Regions from separate parts of the Homo sapiens genome. Here region 1 is linked to region 2. The links are contacts of gene promoters, found by promoter capture Hi-C in blood cells and fetal thymus (Javierre and others, 2016). All regions are on one chromosome and are shown on one strand. Each heading gives the region's core, a stretch centred on a gene start or on the middle of the fragment in contact. The rest is flanking DNA. Distances are from core to core; before and after follow the strand shown. Region 1 has its middle 47 kb from the start of LMLN-AS1. Region 2 holds the start of RPL35A (ribosomal protein L35a).

Region 1 (6,090 bases), core at 3,363-5,862, 130 kb before region 2:
TACCTTATGGGAAAGGAAGAATATGCATATGTATTATTTACAATTTTTATAATATTTATTATAATTAAACGCTGCATGAAAGCTATTAATAGTACTTATTTTTACACAGAGTAAGAAACTTTGAGACACTTTTCCCTTTTGCGTTCTATTACTTTTTATTACATATACATATATAAACATAACTTAAAACTTTCTCATGGGGGCTTGCCAGAGCTTCTGTTTAACCTCAGTCATGAAGAGCTCTCTTAATTCTGCCAATTCACGAGAACAAAAGACTTGCTTGTGCTGAAAGCCATTACAAATTGGAGACATGGGTTGATGCAGTATTCCCAAGTGGGGTGTTTACATAGTGCCCAAAATCCAGAGAACCATAACCAACACTGCGATGCTTTTATATGTCAGCTGGTACAAAATGCAATAATTTACCATCTTGTCCTCTACATGGAAGGTATCCTGAATTACTGAGGGCAACCGCAAACCTAAAATATTTACCAGTGAAAGGCCAGTCTCAAGACTGTAGGTTTTATGTTTCAGATTATGGTTTATTGTTCACATTCCTGTACAAGAGTATCAGAAAATGACATTTCTTGCTCACTAGGGCTGATAAATCTGATATCATCAATATAGTGATCAATATTTTGGTCTTTGTAATTTTAAGACTATTAAGGTTACTTCAGGTCATATTATAACAAAACACAATCATAGCCCTGGGCAAGACAGCAAATATGTTCTGTGGTCTACCCTGGTGAATGAAAATACCTTTTATCTGTTTTCATGAAGGGGATAGAAAGTGATATTTGTCAGATCATAGATGCAAAACCAAGAGTAGAAGCTGGGTTGAGCTGTTAAAATACAGATACTACATAATATCAATACACAGCAGATGCATTTGGAATTATCAGTTGCTGACATTTACATGATTCCCCCATCATCCTCCAGATTCAAAATTTTGCATGGGTCATTCCAGTACATTAAATGGGGATGTGCTAGGGACTTCGACACCTGCACCCCTTTTATCTTTGAGAATGCTATTATTACTGCCATCTTATTCGTTGCTGATTTTCTGTTTTCATGAGAGAATGTGATGGTGAATTTTATGTTAACCATTTATGTTTTATTTTACCATTTCCTATTCCATTTTATGTTTTATTACTTTTATTTTTTTACTGGCTTATGGGGTACCCAGAAAACTGTGAGACTGATTTTGGAGGAACTTGGCATTTGAATCAGTAAACTGAGTAAAGATGACCTGCCCTTAGCAGTGTGGGCAAGCATCACGCAAGCTTTGAAGGCCAGAATACAACAAAACGGCAGAGGAAAGGCACATTTGCTTCCTCTTCTATAACAGCAATATCCATCTTCTCTTCCCCTGAGGAGCTCCAGTTTTTGAGCGTTTGGATGCCAGGACTTACACCATTGACTCTTCTGGTTCTTAGTCTTCAGACTCATTGAATTACATCACTGGCTTTCCTGGTTCTCCAGCTTGCAGATGGCATAGCATGGGACTTTTTGTCTTCCATAATTGTGTGAGCCAATTTCCACAATAAATTTTCTTTATTTATCTCTTTTTGTCTCTCTCTCTCTCTCTGTCTCTATCCTTCTGTCTCTCTGTGTGTTTGTGTGTGTGTGTGTGTGTGTGTGTGTGTGTGTGTGTGTGTGTCCTATTGATTCTGTTTCTATGAAAAGCGCTGCCTAATACCGGAACTTTTGCTTGGTCTTCCCTACCATAATTGATCTTATTCTACATTTCAACAAACCAATGCAATTTCTGTAAGTTGCTGTGTACATCCATTTCAATTATGTCCTCGATGACCAGGGCAATGAACACAGGGTAGTTTAACAAACCCATTAGACTAATGTGAGAGAAAGGCGGACCAGAAAGCCATTTATCAGCTGATCCCTGAAAATTCCAATTATAATAGGTATCTTAATGGCATTTTTGTGTACCCTGGTATCAGTGTCATCTAAGCCCTGGTATTTAAAAGTTCTTGAAAGATCTGGTGAAACTATCCCTAATTATAATAGTTTTAGAACATCTTTGGAGGTGGTTTTGGAAAGTAATTATTACATCATTTAGGCAAAGGTATGGATGTAAATGTGCCATGCAAATACTAACCCTACATGGTGTGCCCATATTAATATTAGATAAAGTGGTCTTCAAAACAGGAGTACTGCCAAAGATAAAGGTGTCAGGTCATAATCAAAAAAGGCCAGTTCATAAAATTAACAATCTTAAATGGATGAACCTAATGAAACTTCAAAATGTGAAACAGACATCAACAGAGTAAAGGTGATGATAATCAGATCTACTTTTCAAATGTCTGTGGAACATTAATCAAGATAGATCAAGTACTGGACCATCAAATAATTCTCACTAAATATAAAAGAAATTAAATCATAGACAGTTTGTGCTCTGAGCAAAACAGGACTAAATTAAAAATCAATAACAAAAATATGTTCAGAAAAACCTTAATATTTGGCAACTGAGCAAATAACTTTTAAATAACAATGGATATAGAAATAATTATCAGATCTGTATTTAAATTTTTTAATTGTGTTAAAATTTTAACAATTTTAAGTACATAATTCATAGCATTAAGTACATTCCCAGTGTTGTACAACCAGCATCTCCATTTCCATCACAAAAAGAAATAAAGTACCCTTAAACAGTAACTCACCATTACTTCCTCTCCCCAGTCTCTGGTAAACACTAATCTTCATTCTGTCTTCACAGATTTGCCTGTTCTAGATATTTCATATCAGCAGAATCATACAACATTTGTCATTTCATGTCTGGTTTACTTCACTCAGCATCATGTTTCCAAGTTTCACCCATGTTGCATGTATCAGAACTTCATCCCCTTTAATGGCTGAATAATATTCTATTATTTATGTATTATATTTTGTGTATCCATTCGTTGATGGACAAGGGTTGTCTCTGGCTATGGCGAATAATGCTGCAATTAACTTTGGTGTAAAAATATCTGTTCAAGACCCTGCTGTCAACTTTTTTGTGTATCATACCTAGGAGTGGAATTTCTGGTTCTCTGTGTGATTCTGTGAGGAAGTACCAAATTGTTTTTCACAGCAAGTGCATCATTTTCTATTCCTAGCAGCCAGTTCATGAGGGCTCCAATTTCTCCACCTCCTTAGCAACATTTATTTTCTGTGTCGTTGTTATGAAAGCCATACTAGTGGAAGCAAAGTGGCATCTCATTTTGGTTTGGTTTTCCATTTTATCAATGAATAATGGTGTTGAGCATCTTTTCTTGTTCTTATTAGACATTTGTTTATCTTCTTTGGAGAAACGTCTATTCAGGTCCTTTGCCTATTTTTTAATTGGGATGTTAGAAATTCTGTTGTTGAGTTTTGAGATATTAAGCTTTTATCAGATACACATTTTTCTTTTATCAGATACATATTTTCTCACATACTATGGGTTGTCTTTTCATTTCCTTGATAGTGTCCTTTGATGCATGAAAGTTTTTGATTAAATCTAACTTATGTATTTTTTCTTTTGTTATCTGTGCTTTTCTGTCATATTTCAAAAAACACTTAAGACTCAAAGGTCATGAAGGTTTCCTGTGTGTTTTCGTCCAAGAGTTACACATTTTAGTCCTTATATTTAAGTCTTCTGTTAATTTAGAGTTAATTTTTGTATATAGTGCAAGGCAAGGGTCTAACTTCTCTCCTGTGCACTGATACCCAGCTGTTGAACAGACTGTTCATTCCTCCATTGACTGGTCTTGGCCCCCTTGTTGAACAGTCGTCGACCATATATGTGAAGACTAATTTCTAGGATCTCAATTCTATTCTATTGGTCTAAATGTCAATTGGTCTTATGCCAGTAAAACACTCTCTTGATTACTGTAGATTTGTAGCACGTTGTGAATCTGGAAAATGTGAGTTTTCCAATGTTCTTTTTCAAGATCGTTTCATCTATGTCAGATCCTTTGAGTTTTTGTATGAATTTTAGAATGAGTTTCTCTGTTTCTGCAAAAAATGTCTTTGGGGTTTTGATGGTATTGCATTGAATCTATAGATTACTATAGATGGTATTGACATATTAACAATATTGTCTTACAATCCATGAACACAGAATATCTTTCCAGTTATTTCAACTCTCTTTAGTTTCTTTCAGCAAAGTTTTGTGTATACCACCATAGTTAGATTGATGCCTGAATATCTTATTTCTGGATGCTATTATAAATGGGATTTTAAAAATGTTTTGATAGTTCATTACAACTATATAGAAATAAAACTAATTTGCATATGTTTGTCTTGCATCCTGCCTATTTTATTAGTTCTAATGGGTTTTGTGTTTTCTTTGGAGATTCATAGATATATGATAATGTGTAGATATAATTTTACTTCTTTTTTTATTTCTAATTTAGATGCCTTTTATTTCTTTGTCTTGCCTAATTTCTCTGGCTAGAACTGCCAGTGCTATGTTGAATAGAAGGGGCAAAGTCACCATCCTTGCCTTGTTCTAGATGTTAGGGAAACAGCTTTCAGTGTTTCATCATTGAGCATGATATTAACTGTCAGTTTTTTATATATCCTAGTGTCATATTGCAGAAGTTCCTTTCTATGCCTAGTTTATTGAGTATTTTTATCATAAACGGGTGTTGTATTTCATCAATGTTTTTTCTGCATCAACTGAAATAATCATGTGCTTATTCATTTTACTATTATAGTATATTACACTGATTTTTTTTTTTTTTTTTTTTTTTTTTTTTTGAGACGGAGTTTCGCTCTTGTTGCCCAGACTGGAGTGCAATGGCGCGATCTCGGCTTTGGTATCAGGATAATGCTGTTATCAAAAAGTGAATTAGCAAGTATTCCTTCTTCACACATTTTGTCGGAAAAGTTTGGGAAGAAATGGTGTTAATTCTTCAAATGTTAGGTAGACTCACCAGTTAATGAAGCTATTTGGTCATAAATCTTTCTTTGTTATATCGCTTTCGATTACTAATTCAATCTCCTTGTCTATTCAGATTTTCTCTTTCTTCTTGAGCCATTTTGGTAGTTTGTGTCTTTCTAGCAATTCATCCATTTCATCCAGGGCACCTAATTTGTTGTTATACAGTTGTTCACAGTATAGTCCTATAATCCTTTTTTATTTCTGTAAAGTTGGTAGTAATGGTGCCACTTTCATTTATGATTTTAATACTGAGTCTTCCATCTTTTGCTCAGTAAATATAGTGAAAGGTTTGATCTTTCAAAGAATCAACTTCTAGCTATGTTTATTTCTTCCACTGCTTTTCAACCTTCTATTTTATTTATTTATGCTCTAATCTTTATTATTTCTTTCGTTCTTCCAGCTTTGGATTTAGTCTTTTTTTGTTTTTTCTACTGCCCGTAGGTATAGAGTGAAGTTACTGATTTGAGATTTTTTCTTAAATGTAGTTGTTTATAGCCATACATTTTCCTTTGAATTCTACTTTCACTGTATGCAATAAGTTTTGGTATGTTTTGTTTTTATTTTAATTTGTCTCAAGATGTTTTATAATTTTGCTTGTGATTTATTCCTTCACTCACTGTTAGTTTAAGAGTGTATTCTGTAATTCCCACATATTTGTGAATTTTCCAGTTTTCATTTTTTATGTATCTGTTGTTTCTTCCATTGTGATTGTAAATTATATTTTGTATTATTTCAAGGTTTTAAAAATGATTAGGACATATTTTGTGGACGAAGATATGGCCTATCCTAGAGAAAGTTCCATATCCGCTTGAAAAGAATGTGTATTCTGCTGTTGTTGGGTGGACTGTTCTCCATATGTGTATTAGCTCTAAATGGCTTATACTGTTGTTCAGGTCTTCCATTTCTCATCAAGCTTCTATCTGGTTTTTCTATCCATTAATTTTTTAATTTATTTTATTATTATTATACTTTAAGTTTTAGGGTACATGTGCACAATGTGCAGGTTAGTTACATATGTATACATGTGTCATGCTGGTGTGCTGCACCCATTAACTCGTCATTTAGCATTAGGTATATCTCCTAATGCTATCCCTCCCCCCTCCCCCCACCCCACCACAGTCTCCAGAGTGTGATATTCCCCTTCCTGTGTCCATGTGTTCTCATTG
Region 2 (5,841 bases), core at 2,546-5,045:
AGAAGAGGAATACAAGCTGATATAGTTGGATACAAATTCAAGGTGACCTCTACACGAGTGGCTCTCAACCCTGGTTACCCACTTCATCACCTGAGAAACTTTAAATGCCTAGAACACCATTCATTCAACAGATACTTATCGAGTAACTATTGTATGCCAGGCCCTTCTGTAAAATACAGCAGCTATAAAACAAAAATCTTTCACATGATAACCAAGTAAGTTTAAGGAAAATACATAGGTCAGATGATAACAGAGGCAATATTGAAAAAATAGCAAAAAAGGACAAGTGTGAGGATATTTGTGTGTACAGAAAGGAGGAATTACCTGCCATTTTAAATAGCCAAGGAAGGTCTCACTGAGGTGACCATGGAACAAAGACTGGAAAGGGAGGGGAAATGCCATGAAGTGATCACGGGATGACTAGCGCAGGCACTGGGGCCAAGGAGTGTGTGTCCTGGCCGGAAGAAAGACTGAAGACACCAAGGGGTTAATCCCAGCTGAGATAAAGAGAATTATGGAGCTCTTAATGACGGGCTTTTACTGAATGAGAGAAACTACTGTGGTTCGAGCAATGTACAAAGGATATGACTTTATATATATTTCCTTTAAAGACCACGGGGTTGTCTTGTCACCCAGGCTGCAGTACAGTGGCCCAATCATAGCTCACTGCAGCCTCTATCTCCTGGCATCAAGCAATCCTCCCACCTAGGGCTCTCAAATGCTGGGGCTACAAGTGTGAGCCACTGCACCTGACTTAAAATTTTAAAGGAACACATTGGCTGTAGAAGAAAAGGTGGGGCAATGATTAAAACACTTTCCCAGAGATTTTAATTGGCTTGGAGTGGGTGAAGACAATAGGATTTGCTCTTGTTGTCCAGGCTAAGGTGCAATGGCACGATGGCTCACGCCTGTAATCCCAGCACTTTGGGAGGCTGGGGCGGGTGGATCACGAGGTCAGGAGTTCGAGACCAGCCTGGCCAACATGGTGAAACCCTGTCTCTACTAAAAATACAAAAGTTAGCCGGGTGTGGTGGTGCGCGCCTGTAATCCCAGCTACTGGGGAAGCTGAGGTTGCAGTGAGCTGAGATCACACCACTGCACTCCAGCCTGGGCAACAGAGCAACACTTTGTCTCAAAAAAAAAAAAAAGTCTACAGCATAAACATCTTTAGGCATGCATAAAAACTAATTTTGGCCTGGTGCAGTGACTTGCGCTATAATCCCAGCACTCTGGGAGGCCGAGGCAGGTGGATTACTTGAGGTCAGGAGTTCAAGACCAGAGTGACCAACACTGTGAAACCCCGTTTCTACTAAAAACATAAAATTAGCTGGGTGTGGTGGCACACGCCTGTAATCCCACCTCACTCGGAGGCTGAGGCAGGATAATCGCTTGAACCCGGGAAGCAGAGATTACAGTGAGCTGAGATTGTGCCATTGCACTTTAGCCTGGATAACAAGAGCAAAACTCTGTCTCAAAAAAGAAAGAAAAAAAGAAAAGAAAGAAAAGAAAAAACAAGGGGCGGGGCACCGTGGCTCCTGCCTGTAATCCCAGCACTTTGGGAGGCTGAGGTGGGTGGATCACAAGTTCAGGAGTTTAAGACCAGCCTGGCCAAAATGGTGAAACCCCATCTCTACTAAATATACAAAAATTAGACAGGCATGGTGGCGGCCGCCTGTAATCCCAGCTACTCAGGAGGCTAAGGCAGGAGAATCCCTTGAACCCGGGAGGCGGAGGTTGCGGTGAGCCGATATTGTGCTACTGCACTCCAGCCTAGGTGACAGTGAGACTCCGTCTCCAAAAAAAAAAAAAAAAAAAAAAAAAACCCATAATTTTAAGGCATTAACAAAATGCATTAAGCACAAGTGTTCTAAAAATCCTTAAATTCTGGCAAAAGGAGCCGAGAAAAAAAATTAGAAACCTTAAAAGGATCACAATATAAGGAATTACCTCCTTTATTGCTTACAAGTGCAAAAGGTACCTAAATCCAACACCACCCTCAGAAGTAACGTCCTTCTAAAACTCCCCATTAAGTTCCTTAATGACGCAAAATAGAAGCCACAGCAATACCAATCCAGCCTGGCCAACATGGGGAAACCCATTCTCTAGTAAAAATACAAAAATTAGCCGGGCGTGGTGGCACACCCCTGTAAGCCCAGCTACTCAGGAGGCTGAGGCAGGAGAATCGCTTGAGCCAGGAGGCAGAGGCTGCAGCGAGCCAAGATCGCGCTACTGCCCTCCAACCTGGGCAACAGAGACTCTTGTCACAAAAACAAAAAAACAATACCAAGTACTTCAGCTAAATCTTTTGTTTATTATTTCAATAGGATAATGAGGCCAGGCGCGGTGGCTCAAGCCTGTAATCTCAGCACTTTGGGAGGCCGAGGTGGGCGGATCACCTAAGGTCAGGAGTTTGGGACCAGCCTGGCCAACATGGCAATACCCTGTCTCTACTAATAATACAAAAACTAGCCGGGCGTGGTGGCCGGCGCCTGTAATCCCAGCTACTCGGGAGGCTGAGACAGGACACTTGCTTGAACCCGGGAGGCGGAGGTTTCGGTGAGGGAGACCAAGTCACTGCATTCCAGCCTCGGCAACAGAGCAAGACTCCGTTATATAAAAAAGAAAATGAGGCAGATCTCAAAAACCCAAAACCTACCAGTGTCATAAACTTACTTCTTTGCTTTATATACATAAGCGCATCTCTTGCCCAAATAGAATTCTGTTTCATCTCGGGCGTAAACACCTTCAATTTTAAGAAGAGCTGTGTGCTCCCTTTGGTTCCGGAGACCCCGCTTATAGCCAGCAAAAATGGCCTTGGACCACAGCCTAAGACACAAAAGATACACAACATGAAACATAAGCTTCAAAAAACCAATCTGACTTGTAATCACCCCCACCCAAAAGTTACTCAGAGCAAACATCTAAGTTTTTTCTTGCCAATTTTAAGCTCGCATTTACGTTCACGTCTAACACACAAAAATAAAGAACTATATTTAAAACGCGTACCTTCCAGACATAGTTCCTTTTAGAAGTCCCGTTCCCAGCAGGCCTTAAAACAAACAAAAAGATTAGTTTAAAACCAAGCCACACAAGTTTCCCACCTCGTCCCCTCTCGTTTAAGCCCCTAAAGCAAATTCCTTTTGGATGGGAGTTTCATGTAGGAGTTCGGGGACAACAATGCCAGAACATCCATATGAAACGCAGGGTCCGGCAAGACATTCAAACCTCAGAGAACAGCTGGTATCTAAGCAAACTTCAGAATGAAGACAAAACTAAGGGACAGGAGTCACAAAAATGACTCTCAGAAAAGCCTGAGAAAATGCATGCCGTTATCAGTAGGCAACACTCAGGAAAAGAAATGAAGCCTTAAAGAGAAACACACACGTAAGACTTTTATGCAATGGCTGGGGGAGAAAAGCTGAGGAAAGAGACTGGTCAGACAAGCCAAGGAAGGTATGGACTGGGAGGAAACGGATGAAGGAAGCACTGCCTCATGGACAACTGCACACGAACAAAAACATCGTTTCACTCCGTTCAGGCCCAGGAATTTAACTGGGATAACCCGGGCAGCCGTTCTCCGGGTGTCAGGGGACCAAACACCATCAGCCCAACATCTCCTCCATCCTGTTCTCCCTCTTCTTGAAACCCGTAGAAATCAATGGCTGGCAGAGACTCCGATACGCACCGGCGACTCGCCAAGGCACAGGAACAAACCTACTCCGGTTATTTGCCCCCAAATTTCAGCAGCAGACCCTTCACTCACCTCCACAGGAGCCAAGATGGCGGTAAGAGAAGGACGAGGCCCCGCCGCGTGGCCTTGTGGGATTAAACATCTTTCGACTCCGCCCTCAATTTAGGCATCTTCTCCAAACGCCAGAAAAACAATCCTCGGAAATCGGCTTCGCACTGAAATAAGCCACATTCAATAGCACTCTTACAATTATTTTCCTAAGTCCTTTCATCTTGGTAGGCTGCAAAATGTACTACTTGGGAACAAGGGAAGGCAAAATGGTAGCCAGCTAAATCCGCCAAAGCTGTGCGTTGCCATAGAAACAACTTAGTTTACTTCCTGCGTCCCCGGACGCCGTAGGTGGAAAGGCGAACCCTGAGTGGAGGATGTTCCCGCTGCCTAAAGAATGATTGACTGTAAGATTGATTTGCCAACAGTGGGGTGCTTTTCTCTCGATACACACAGCAATAGACAGAACGGAAATTCTGGGATCCTAATCTAGCATGGAAGAGAAAGGCCGGGAGCACGAAGGCAGCAGGACCTCTTCCTTCTCTTTTTTCTTTTTCTATACTTCTTTTCTCCCCTCTACTTATTTATCTCTTTCAAGAAATGAGACTGGGCACAGTGGCTCACGCCTGTAAACCCAGCTCTTTGGGAAGCCGAGGCGGGAGGATCGCTTGAGGCCAGGAGTTCGAGACCAGCCTGGGCAACATAGTGAGACCACCTCCCCCAACCTCTACAAAAGAAAAAAAAAATGAATGAAATGACTTAAGTTCTTACCTCCATTCTTCTTTTTGGATCCGAGGTATGAGGAGGACTGCCTGCAGGAGGCTTTATCGCCCTTTTAGGAGAACTCGTTTAGCTGCCTCGTGTCCGCACCTAGTAGGTCCTCCGTAGATACTTGTAGAGGTGGATTAGTGGACGCCAGAGATTCACATTTCCGAATTATTGCATATTTATTTGGGTTATCCTATGGATTCATTCATTTATTTAACACATAGTTTAATGAATGACTACCCTGTACCAAGGTTTGTGTAAGATGACACGGCAGTAAACAAATCTATGCCCTCGTGGAGCTTATATCCTACGAGGCGGAGCAACACAATGAGCAAGTAAAAATAGATGACACGTTAGAAGATGATAATTTCTGTGAAGAAAATTAAGCAGAGAGGCCACTGTAAAAGAGGCTTTCCCCACTTTGAGATGGGAAGTATGTAAAAGAGGCTTCCCCTGCTTTGAGATGGGAACTATTTAAGGGTCCTGAACAGAAGGGTGACTCTATCTGACTTCTATATTGACAAAGTCACTGTGTTGAAAGTGAAGGGAGGCAAGGGTATCAGCAGGAAGATAATTATAGGTTCCTGTAGTGACTATGATGAGAGGTGATGGTGTGTAAACAGAGGATATTGAGTACTGGAATTCTGAATATATTTAAATTCTGGCAAGATTTGCTGGTGGATGAGGAATGAGAGAGAGTAAAGTATGACTCCGAAGTTGTATGAAATAGATGTATATAAGTCACTTTTAAAATCAGATCCTCTCTTAAATACAACAGGATAGAACTTGTACCTTGTAGCCTACTACCCCACCCAGTGTTCCCTGTCCCAGAAAGAAATGTGCTAGAAATTTCACTATTAGATATTGATTTGTCAAAGTTCTATATGGAAGTCCTCCTGGGAGGAATAACACATTAAGTGTGAGTTTCATTCGTTTGCTCGTGTATTATTCGTTCCACAAATACTTATTGAGCACTGAGACTTAGCACCTGATACAACTGTGAGCATCGTTGTCATGTTGCTGCTTTCATGGAACAGTTGTCTAGTGGGGGGAAACTGACACTAACGTAACAAATTGTGAACACAGCTCTGCGGGAAAGTAGTGGCATGAGTGCCCAGAAGCCTGATCTGGCCTGACGAGTCAGCGAAAGGATCACTTGGACAAGTGTCAGTTAAGGCATTTTTCAAACTGCAGGTGATGACCATTAGTAGAGCATGATAAGAATACTTTTTAAAACAAAGTATGGGCCGGGCGCAGTGGCTCACGCCTGTCATCCCAGCACTTTGGGAGGCTGAGGTGGGTGGATCACTTGAGGTCAGGAGTTTGAGACCAGC

The links. Contacts are between HindIII fragments. The CHiCAGO score rates a contact against its expected background, and 5 or more counts as called.
Region 1: a contact is called between a fragment that was not itself captured here and the fragment with the promoter of RPL35A in region 2, in 3 of 17 cell types (megakaryocytes, total B cells and naive B cells). The highest score is 8.1, in megakaryocytes.

What each region holds. Positions count from the first base shown.
Region 1 is chr3:198,083,018-198,089,107 of GRCh38, reverse strand. No RefSeq gene overlaps it. Among named protein-coding and RNA genes, the nearest start is that of LMLN-AS1, 47 kb to the right of the region's middle. The HindIII fragment of the contact is 2,455 bases long and covers 3,385-5,839 here.
Region 2 is chr3:197,948,144-197,953,984 of GRCh38, reverse strand. RPL35A (ribosomal protein L35a) reads right to left here and starts at 3,795. Exons shown (of 5, transcript NM_000996.4): 1 at 3,764-3,795; 2 at 3,007-3,049; 3 at 2,674-2,826. The coding sequence starts at 3,017. The region is part of intron 2 of DRC9 (dynein regulatory complex subunit 9); the gene reads left to right. RefSeq lists enhancers at 1,746-2,527, 3,311-4,093, 4,173-4,392. The HindIII fragment of the contact is 8,868 bases long and covers 2,864-5,841 here.